Regions from separate parts of the Homo sapiens genome. Here region 1 is linked to region 2. The links are contacts of gene promoters, found by promoter capture Hi-C in blood cells and fetal thymus (Javierre and others, 2016). All regions are on one chromosome and are shown on one strand. Each heading gives the region's core, a stretch centred on a gene start or on the middle of the fragment in contact. The rest is flanking DNA. Distances are from core to core; before and after follow the strand shown.

Region 1 (4,939 bases), core at 944-3,443, 54 kb after region 2:
CAGCTGTCACTCTCAGCACCCCACAACCCAGACCTGTCCCCCGGAGCCCCAGATGAGCATACAGCAAAAGGCACCACAAAATAGGTTTCTATTAAAGAGTCAAAAAATTGGCCCATCTCTCTTTTTTTTTTGTTGTTTCTTTTTTTTTTCCGAAGCTGTAAATCAGGATGTTACATATAAATAGTTTCCCTATAAAAACGCCTTTGCCGTTAGCTAGTATTATAAGACAATTTTTGCTAAAATGAAAATAAAACATTTTGTTATACTTTTTTCCTTTTATAGAAAATAAAAATATTTTTATTTCTTTTTTCCTCCTTTCTCTCCAGTAGGCGGTCTCTGGTCTCCTTAAAGATAGTGGGGCGGGCGGGGCGGAGGGGCGCGCGGCGGGGCCCTAGAGTGGCGCCGAGTCCTGCTTGGCCCGCGGGGGCGGCCCGCGGCTGTGTCTGCTGCTGGCCCGCGTGCTGTGGCTGTCCAGTGAGTAGTAAGTCCTGCTGTCGGCCGCCGGGCACAGTGGCGGCGAGTCCGAGCGCAGCGCGTCGTGCGCCCCACGCAGGCCCAGGAAAGGTGTGCTCTCGGCCGCCAGCGCCCCGTCCGCGTCGTCCGCGTCGTCGTCCGACGCCGAGGCTGAGCCGCCGCCCGAGCCGCTGCTCAGCGACAGCGAGTCCCTCGCCGCCCGTGCGCGCTGCGCCGCCAGCCCGTTGAGGCGCGAGCGGCGCCAGCGCCGGGGCCCCGCCGACGTCCTGCGGGACGCACCGCGCGCGCGCGGCCGCGGCGGCGGCGGGGGCGCGCACTCCTGCGTGGTCTCGTACTCGTCGTCCTCGGGGATGCGGAAGGGGCTGGCAGGCAGGCTGCCCAGGCTGCCGCCGAGCGCGCAGGTCCCGCGCCGCGGTCCGGGCCCCGCCGCGGGGTAATAGTAGCTGTCATAGCTGCGCTGCATGTCTGCGCCGGGCCCGGGCCCGGGCCCGGGTCCGGGTCCCGGGCCGGGGGGCGCCGGGTGCCGCAGTAACGGCTGCTGCTCGGCCAGGCGGTAACTGATGGGCGCCGCCGGCGGCAGCGACACGGCGTGCGCCGAGTTGGGGGACGTGATCTCGAAAGTTGGCACCTGCGTGGCCAGCGAGTAGTGGAAGTCCACGGGCGAGAGGCGCGCGGGCGTGGTCAGGGCCGACACGTACCTGCGGGGAGAGGCAGAGGCATGGGCCAGGGCCAGGCCGGGCCGGCGCGGGGGAGGGGGGGTTGGGGGTGGGGTAGGGTGGGAGGGGCGGACCCAGACTTGCCTTAACCTTGCCCGAGACCCCGCCTGCAAGAATGACGGCAGCAACCCTCAGTGGCCTTATGCAATTTCCTAAACCTCTCCGAGCCTCGGTTTCCTTATCTGTTACGCGGGCATAACCATGGTGTTGATTCCATAGCTCTGTTGGGATGATTCCAGATTGTATCAGTGGGATGTGTTAGCCCTGTGCCTGACCCTGGTAAGCTTTCATGAATGGTCACTTGCTGTGGGAATGCTCACCGTCAGGGGGTCAGGCTCACGCTGGGGTACATGTTCCATCTGGTTTAATACCGCAGCTCTGTAAGACCCTTCCGCCAGTCCCATTCTACACGCAGGAAAGTAACACTCAGAACGTTTAATTCTACACGCAGGAAAGTAACACTCAGAACGTTTAAGTGACTTATTCAGGATTTACACAGCCAAGAAGTGGCAGAGCTGGGATGTGACTTGAGGCTAGTCAGGAACCAGGACTCATACTGCCCAATTCCAGAAGCCATTAGTCTCCATTCAGATACCCCTGTGACCTGGCCTCACTGCCCCACAGGGACAATTCCTCCCATGCCCTGATGGCTTCAGTGAGGGAAATATTCCTCCTTACAGTGAAGTCAAAACCTGCTTCAGGGGAGTACCAAGATCCCATGAGGTGTCTCTGCTTGTGGCTACAGACCCATCCCCACACCACCAGCTCCTTCAGAAGTCTGGCCTTGCTAATATCTCCCAGGCTGGATCCCGGGTACCTGTCCCCTTTTGTGCTCCACATCCCCCTTGTAAGCCCATCAGTCTTCTGCCCCACCGTTGTCACCTCAGGACAGGGGCCACCCACCTCCACGCTTCCCTTCCAAACTGCACAGCTGGGCATCTCACTGCTCTCTGGAACCAGCCTGGAGTCCCCATTATCATTTTTTCTGAATCGCCTGACTCCTCCCTCTTCCCTTTCCCACCGGCACATCTGATTAACCACCAAGTCCTACCCATTCCCTTCTCCGGAAGCACACTCTCCACCCCATCCTGGGCCCGACTGTTCACATGTGGTCATCTGGGTCCACCCCAGGGTCTCTCCTCCTTCACTCTATGCAGTTCCCAGAGCAATCTTGTAAAGTCACAGCTCTGCTGAAGCCGGTCTTCCTGTTTACCCACCCAGGGTCAGTCTGTCTGGCCTCAGCTTGCCTGTTCAGGCCCAGCTCCTCTGCTCCCTACAGCCCACTCTGTTCCAGGCACCTCACTCATCAGCCCTGTTCTTAAGTGCCTCTGTTGGAACAGCTCAAGTTGTTCCCCGTGCCTAGAATGCTTTTCTTCCTGCTCTCCTGCCTCTCCCCTTCCTACCACCCATTAAGGAGTCTCATTGCTGTGGTTACGATTCATAAATAGCTACACCTAGTGAGCATCAGCTCCATGCCAGGGATGAGACAAAGAGCTCTGTGCACATGATCTCAGGTGGCCTTCACTTGAACCATGCATAGTAGCTTTTGTTCTCCCTGTTCTACAGCTGAGGGAACAAGGTACAGAGGTGATCAGTCTGCCCCAAATCACACAGGTGGTGGAGCTGGGCTTAGAAAATCTGGCTACTTCCCAGAGCCTACAGTCAGACTGGGTCTCTCTGCCCTGGTGTGGTGTCATGTTTAGCACCTTCCATAGGCTGCTGTAAGCTTCCTTGGTTTGTTTCTGTGGCTAGGAGCTCCTCAGGAGCAGGAACCTGGCAGGCCACTTCTGGATTCCCAGCCAGGCCTGCCCAGCACAGGGCCTGGCATGGAGTAGGCTGAGTTGAGAGCAAGGGAATATCTGCTCCTCTCCCTGCTCCCTGGTGTGGAGTTTTTAGTACCACTCATCTTTCCCTGCTCACCTCCTACAGACCCCACTTGCTGAGGGCCACTCAGGGCTGAGCAAGGTGGCAGGGGTGCTGGCCCTTGACTTCTGGCTTGGAGTCAGGGAAGAAAGGGCGTTTCCTGGTTCTTACTACATCCACTGCTTAGGAAGCCAACAAGGCCTTGAACCCTGGGGTCTTGTTGCTGCTACTGCCAAGGCCTGCCATCATTCTTGGCTCACGTCCATCTTGTGCTGGTCAGTGTCCTCAAAGGCAACCTCCCCTCCCACTCTGCAGTTTACTCCTTCTTCGTGTCTCCTTCTGTTCCTGCTGGGACATGGAACTTCTAGCATGTATCCTGGTTTGTCCAGAACAGCCCCTGTTTGTTCTTTTTTTTTTTTTCTTTTTGTAAAGGGAGTCTTGCTCTGTTGCTGAGGTTGGAGTGCAGTGGCGCCATCTCAGCTCACTGCAACCTCCGCCTCCCAGGTGAAGGGATGCTCTTGCCTCAGCCTCCCAAGTAGCTGTGATTACAGGCATGTGCCACCATGCCTGGCTAATTTTTGTATTTTTAGTAAAGATGGGGGTTTCACCATGTTGGCCAGACTAGTCTCAAACTCCTGACCTCAGGTGATCCATCCGCCTTGGCCTCCCAAGTGCTGGGATTACAGGTGTGAGCCACCGCGCCCGGCTGCCTGTTTGTTCTTGATGTTCCAGTGTAACTATTAATAATGTCCTTTTTCTAGTGTGAAAAGTGTCCTGGGAGGACAATTAAATTAGATGGTCACTGTCCACCAGGGTCCACTGGCCCAACTCTAGTCCCAGTCTGTCATTAACATGCCGATGGCTCTGAGCAGGCCATTTCACCTTTTCTAGGACCTTGTTTTCCCATATGAAAAATGGAGATGAGGCTCTTTGGAGTGTTTCTGAGGGGCCCTAAGGGTCAGCCTTGGGCCAGTGGTGCCAGCCCTCTGGCTAAGCGGGGAATAGGTCAGGGGGTAGGAACTGACCTCTCGCTGTGTGGGGAGTCGCGAAGGGAGTCCACGGAATCGTGATAGGGTGGCGCGGTGGCCCTGCGCCGCTCCTCCAGGTTGTAGGCTGCTGCCCGCCTTGCCCGGGCCTCCACACATGCTGGGCTGTTGCATTTGCTGGTACCCACTGATGATAGCATGATCCCCGACTGGGAGTCAGAAGTCAGGCTCTCAGAACGTTCCAGGCTCCACGTGTGGCTCTCGTGTCTGGGAAGGCCAGATGGGGTGAGACGAGGGGTCAGGAAGGGGCAGGGCGGCCCAGCAGGTGTGGTCCCATGGACCTCCCTGGCTCTTCTTCCACCTCGAGCTCCCTTAGCTCAATGCCCTTCTCCACTCTGGGGTGATGTGTATTGTTGCAAATGCCCAACCCCAATATTGGAAGAAGGAGGGCTGGGGTCCCATAGATGGGTGAGCTGTAATGTGCAGAGACCCATTTCTTTCCTTCCTGCAACCAGCCTCCCCCCAGCCTTACCTTAGACCCCCTGTCTGGGACCTTTCCACCACCGTGGTCCTTAGCTACCTATCTCAGAAGCCCAGCCCCAGGGGCCAGTATGTGAGGGCCCTGACTATTTCCTGGTGCTCCCGAGGGAAGAAGGGAGCCAGCCATGTTATTTTTGAGTTGTCTGAGCCTTTGTGCTGTGTGGACTGGCCTCTGCAGTTCTGGAGAGGAGGCTAAGGTGTGCTGTGATTCCTGTGGCAAGCTCAGGGGAGGGTATTGAATAGCTCTGGATGTCGGAGTAAGTGGGCACTTTGCGCCAGATGAAGTATGTGAGTCTACAAGTTTCCATGGGCCTTGGTGGTGCCTACCTGTGGCTGGAGGTGGGTGTGGCTGTGGAGCAG
Region 2 (5,467 bases), core at 1,669-4,168:
CCTTCCTTCCTTCCTTCCTTCTTTCTTTCTTTTTTCTTTCTTTCTTTCTGTCTTTCTTTCTTCTTTCCTTCTTCTTTTGACTGAGTCTTGCTCTGTTGCCCAGGCTGGAATGTAGTGGCACGATCTTGGCTCACTGCAACCTCTGCATCCTGGGTTCCAGTGATTCTCTTGCCTCCGGAGTAGCTGGGATTACAGGTGTGCATCACCACACCCGGCTAATTTTTGTATTTTTAGTAGAGAGGGGGGTTTCACTGTGTTGGCCAGGCTGGTCTCGAGCTCTTGACCTCAAGTGATCCAACCCACTTTGGCCTCCCAAAGTGTTGGGATTACAGGCGTGAGCCACCATTCCCAGCCTGACCCTGCTGTCTTTCAGGAGGCGAAGGTAGCCACAAGGAACAGTAACAATACTCCCCTCTCCAGTGTCCATGGCACCCAGAACACTCACACAGAGCTCACCTGTGGCCTCCAGGCAGCCCTCTGAGCCCTAGGGAGCTAGTTCCACTTGACGGAGGGGAAAGGAAGGTTCAGGAAAGGGTACAGCTGCCCATAGCCACACAGCTAGGAAGTGTGGGTTGGGGGGACTGGACTAGAACCCGGGTCTCCTTGCCCCTGCCACAGGCTCCCAGAGCTACAAAGGACAGGGGGCAGATCCAGGGGGCAGAGACTAGGTTCTGTGTGCCAGCCCAGCGCAAGTTAGCTGGAGAGACAGCTATGTCTACCTTTCCCCTTTCCCTGTTCTTTCCTTCCACATAATTTATTAAGCCATGCTGAGTGTTAGGTGCTGAGGATACACTGTGAACCCTTTCAAGGGGCTCAGAGTCCATCCAGTGGACAACAATTAAATAGTGCATTCCATGAGTAAGTAATCATTACAGCTGGAACAGCCATGGCCCATTGAGTGCATCTGTGTGCCAGGTCTTGAGCACATCAGCTCTTTCGGTCCCCATCCTAGCCTCACAAAGAGGGGGACTGCTACCATCCTCATTGGGCAGATGAGGAAGTAGGAGCCCAGAAAGGTGGTCCAGCTGTGACTTGAGGGCATGGGTGCCAAGGGTGGGGAATGTGGTATCTAAGCCCTGCCATGAGCACTTCCCTCCACAGCCCCTGCTGGTCGCCACCCTTCTCTGCCTACAGGTAGCAGAGGGCAGGGGGGTAGAATGCAGGACAGCAGGGAAGCCAAGCTCCCTCTGTGCCCTTTAAGATCCTGGGCACCTGCACAGAGAGTGGCTCCCTTGTTTCTGGGCTCTGCGGTAATGTCCTAGGGTTTGATGGGCAGTGAAGGATGTGGTCTGAGTGCCCTCTTAATTGACCAGCTGTGCTCACAGATTCAGATCTCCTGGGATCATGAGCAAGTGACTTATGCTCTCCAAGTCTCAGTTTTCTCATCTGTAAAACGGGTTGTAGGATTGTTTTGAGAATTAAATATGACACATGAAGAGCACTTGGTAGATGCTTGGTTGTCAGAGGTGTCACCATGGTTGATGAAGTCCCAGCTCCTGCTGTTGCCCAGCTTGAAGGGAGGGAGACTACGCACAGCTCAGATTCCACACCTCCAATTACTGCCACCCTAAGAGGTCAGCAAATCCTCTTCCTGCTCCCTAAGAAGAGTCCATGTTTGTGTGTTCATGGGTGGAAAGAAGGTCAGAGAAGACTTCATGAAGGAAGGGGCATTTAAGGAGGAATTTGAGGGTTCAGTAGGAGTTCACTGAGCACAGCAGGATCAAGGCCCCACCGGGCAGAGTGTGGATCATCTGCTGAGGTCTGGAGATGGAAGCAACTGGGTGTGGTGAACCCCCCAGGGGCTGGAGTAGGGGAGAGGGGTAGAAAGTGGCCTCCAGTGGCAGGGCCTGACTCTATCCTGATTTCCCTTCTCCCAGGCACTGGGCCTGCTCCCCACGCCCTCCTTAGATCCCTGTGGGTGGGGGCCCTTTAATGCCTCTCTGAGAGGCGGACTCTTACTCTGCAGGTGCCTCACAGCCAGGAAGTTCTTAATGTCTAGCCCAGGTACAGCCAGTCAACCCTCTTCTTCAGTTAGAGTCCTGGGCTGAGGGGGGCGGCTTCAGGGCCTTGACTTGCCCTTGGGGAGACACCGTGGGACAGGTGCCTTGGGAGATGGTTTCCTCTGCCCAGGGCACCCTCTGTCTCTCTCTGTCTCCTTATATCTGCCCAGGGAGGCTTCCCCTTGACCTGGCACAGGGATGTGGATTCTTGGTTGGACCCACCCCTCACCTCCCGCCTCCCTCAGGTTCTTTCTCCTTTGTCTCTTTCTCCTCTCTCCTGCCTCCTCCCATCCCACTCTGTCCCGAGGCTCCTTCTCACCCCACAGCCCAGGTCTCCGTCCCGTCCCGTGTGACTCTAGGTCTCAGGGGCTCAGTCTCCCTCTCTGAGATTCTTCACCTTGGCCCCCCGCACTCCCTGCTCCTCCCTTGGCGGCGTCTCCCGGGGGCTGGCGTGTGTGTCGGGGGGCTGGGGGCAGGGGTCACTCCCTGAACAGACCGCGGGAGGAGGGCCAGGACCCGCCCCCTCCTTCACCTCCAGGGCCTGGCGGGTCCCGAGAGCTCAGGTTCTAGACCGGTGGGTCCTGCCTGGAGGGCGGAGGTGGTTGGGTCTGCCCGAGGGTTCGAGGACGGCAGGGGCCCAGCGTGGCTAGGAGGGGGCAGAACCCCGGGCGCTCCCCTCCCCCCCTTTCTTAAAGGGCCCGCGCGGGGCAGAGGGGGACAAGGTGGGCCGCGCTCTCCCCGGCACGCTCGGGGTCCCGGGGCGAGCGCTGCGCTGCAAGCGGACAGGGCTGGGGGCCGCGCTTCCCTCCGGGCTCCGCGCCCGCCGCTCGCGCGCCCGCAGTGCCCCCGCCCTTCCCCGCCCTTCCCGCTCCTCCCTCCTCCTCCTCCTCCAGCTCACGGCTCCGCTCCCTCCCTCCTGCCGTCCGTCCCCCTCGCTCAGCCTCTCCACATCGCGGCTCCGGCACCTGAAGGGACGCGGGCGGGCGCGGGCAGCTCCGACCGGCGGCGGCGGGGCGGGACAGGCAGCCCGGCGGCCTCCGATGGCCCCGCCGTGAGAGGCCGGACCCGCGGCGGGGACCAGCAGCGGTGAGTGGGGCCGCGGGGCTCCGGGACCCGCCCCTCCCCGCTGGCGGCCAGGCCGGGGCGGGACGGGCCGGGGAGAGGGCCGCGTGCGGGTGGGGGGCGTCGCCCTCGCCCTCGGTGCCCACCCGGGTCCGCTAACAAAGCTACATTTCCAGATCAATTCCGCGGCGTCTGGAGCATCCGAAGGATACGGTTGTCATGGAGATGGGGCCGAGAGAGGAAGCCCGGGCTGGCCGGGTCTGGGCCGGGGAGAGGGGGCGCCGCGGGAAAGCCCGAGCCCAGCCTGAGGGACGGTGGGGGCTGCCGGGCCGATTGTCTCCCGGCTCCGCCACCCACTACCCTCTCCCCGCTTTTGTATAATCTGGGGGTACGCGTGTGCGTGGGGGGTGCCAGTGGCAGCCTGGTGGTCGGGGATCGGGGCATTGGGTACCGGGGCCTGCCGGCAGCCACCTTCACGAGGCTGCAGCTTTGAGGATTTATTTCTGTTTCCAGTTTCCCAACTTTGACAGCCCTGCTTGGCGGCCAGGCCTCCCCGGCTCTGCAGCTAGAGCGGGGGCTCGCACGGGGGCGTGGCAGTCAGGGCTGAGGAGGCACATAATGGCCGAGGCGGCAGCGGGAGGGAGGGGTCCCAGGAGCGGGCTGCTGGGGCTGGGTGCAGAGGGAGTCCAGACTGGGGACAACCCTGCCCAGCGGGCCCCCTCGGAGGAGGAGGTATTCAGCTGTTCCTAGAGGATGCAGGGACTCCCCGGAATGATCACTGGGGGCATTGTTTTTGCATAGGCCCAGGGGGCCACTGTCTCAAGCCCACCCCTTTGTCTTGGGGCCATCTTGGGGGGGCCAGGAAGAGAACAGGGAGCAGAAGCAGCAGTCACAATGGAAGAGGGCCTAAGACTCCTGGCAGCCTGGGGATAAGCCAGGCTGAATTTGATGGGGATCAGCGAGAGGGCTCAGGATTTGGCCAGGGCAGGTGGGCAGCCTGGGTTTGGACTTTCCTGGGTTCCCCAGTTCCTTTTTCTAGATCCTACAAACAAGAGCTGCTTAATAGTGGTTGGGGGTGGGGGGGTTCACTGGGCTGGGACTGCCTCCAAACCCAACCCGTGGCCCAGGGCAGTTGCAGTCGTTCTTTCATTCTTCCACCCTCTCCCCAGGACTTTAGGAACCTGTCTCCCAGGGAAGCTACAAGTTCTGGGGCCTGGGATCTCCGAATCAGTAAAATGTGCCTGCTGTCCTCCCAGCAGCCCCTTTCCCCAATATATGCGGGAAGCAGGGAACAGGGGCTTTTGAGTGGGGCTACTGCAAAGTTTGGTCCTGGTGGAAACATAGCAGGTCCCTAGGGTTTGGCCAGAGCCCCCAAAAGATTCCCACGCAGTGGGGTGAGTAGGTGGGTGTGGCCCAGCTAAAGGAGGATGACTGGGTTGTCCTTGGAAGGCCTCCCTCACTGGTGCCTCTTGCAAGGTTGAAGTCTCAATGCTTGGGTGAATTGCACCCTGCAGCCCAGGGATGCCCCCAGAGGCCTCCCCGCTGCAGCTTGTCCTGGTCTGACAACTATGGGGTGCACGCTCCACAAGCAGACCTGACAAATAGTGCCTCCCAGGGTCTTCCCTGAAGGGAGAGAGCAAAGATAGCTGGAAGGAATGACTTCCTGCTCTAGACAGGACTGAGAGAGAGAGTGTGGCTGGGGGGTATTACCTCACCTAGCTTCCACATATGGAGCATATGTGCTAAGTACCCTCATAACAGTCTTTAGAGGGAGGCACTACCCTTATTCCCATTTTGTGGTAGAGCTGTTTGTTCAAAGTCTCCTGGTTAGTAAGTGGCAGAGTGAGGATTTGCACTTGGCCAGAACTGTCTGATACTCAGACCTGTGTCCCCATCCTCTCCTCTTCTTCCCTGGAGACACAATTTAGGAGAGAGGTGGGAGGTGGGATAGAGTGTCTCTCCATCTGGGCAAGAGGGTGACCTTGGGAAAAACAAGCACTAAGCTGTAGTTTCCTAGGGAGGTGGGATCAAGGCATTCCCATTCCGGACGTTGGCTTGCAGGAGATCAACACTGCCTCTCACAACAGACGATGCTCTAGACCTCCTTTGCCAGATGGTCTTTTCCAGGAAAATCTGTTTTGAGCGGCATCTTATGTCTGAGGCTCCGTATTTAGACTGGCTCTCCAAACAGGAGGATACACTTAGGCTGTCGCCCCTTGAGGGGTGTTTGGGGGAGTTGGGTGGGCTTGGGGCCAGACCTGGCTCCTTGCCACAGCTCAATGGAGGGGGAGGGGCCCATGTTCCTGCCCTGGTCTCCCTGGGACCAGCTTGTTTTCCTTGTCCCTCTAAGCCGGCTTGCCCACAGGTGAGTCCGTTTCCTCAGGGTCTGGCCCCCTTTTCAGGTG

Evidence for each region. Contacts are between HindIII fragments. The CHiCAGO score rates a contact against its expected background, and 5 or more counts as called.
Region 1: a contact is called between a fragment that was not itself captured here and the fragment with the promoter of PSD2 in region 2, in 1 of 17 cell types (M0 macrophages). The highest score is 5.3, in M0 macrophages.

The regions. Positions count from the first base shown.
Region 1 is chr5:139,847,526-139,852,464 of GRCh38, forward strand. It overlaps NRG2 (neuregulin 2), which reads right to left. Exons shown (of 10, transcript NM_004883.3): 8 at 4,907-4,939; 9 at 4,079-4,306; 10 at 1-1,172. The coding sequence ends at 392. Among named protein-coding and RNA genes, the nearest start is that of PSD2, 54 kb to the left of the region's middle. RefSeq lists silencers at 404-593, 724-1,143, 1,194-1,253. The HindIII fragment of the contact is 1,442 bases long and covers 1,473-2,914 here.
Region 2 is chr5:139,792,890-139,798,356 of GRCh38, forward strand. PSD2 (pleckstrin and Sec7 domain containing 2) reads left to right here and starts at 2,919. Exons shown (of 15, transcript NM_032289.4): 1 at 2,919-3,086. RefSeq lists a silencer at 2,438-2,637. The HindIII fragment of the contact is 8,840 bases long and covers 1-5,467 here.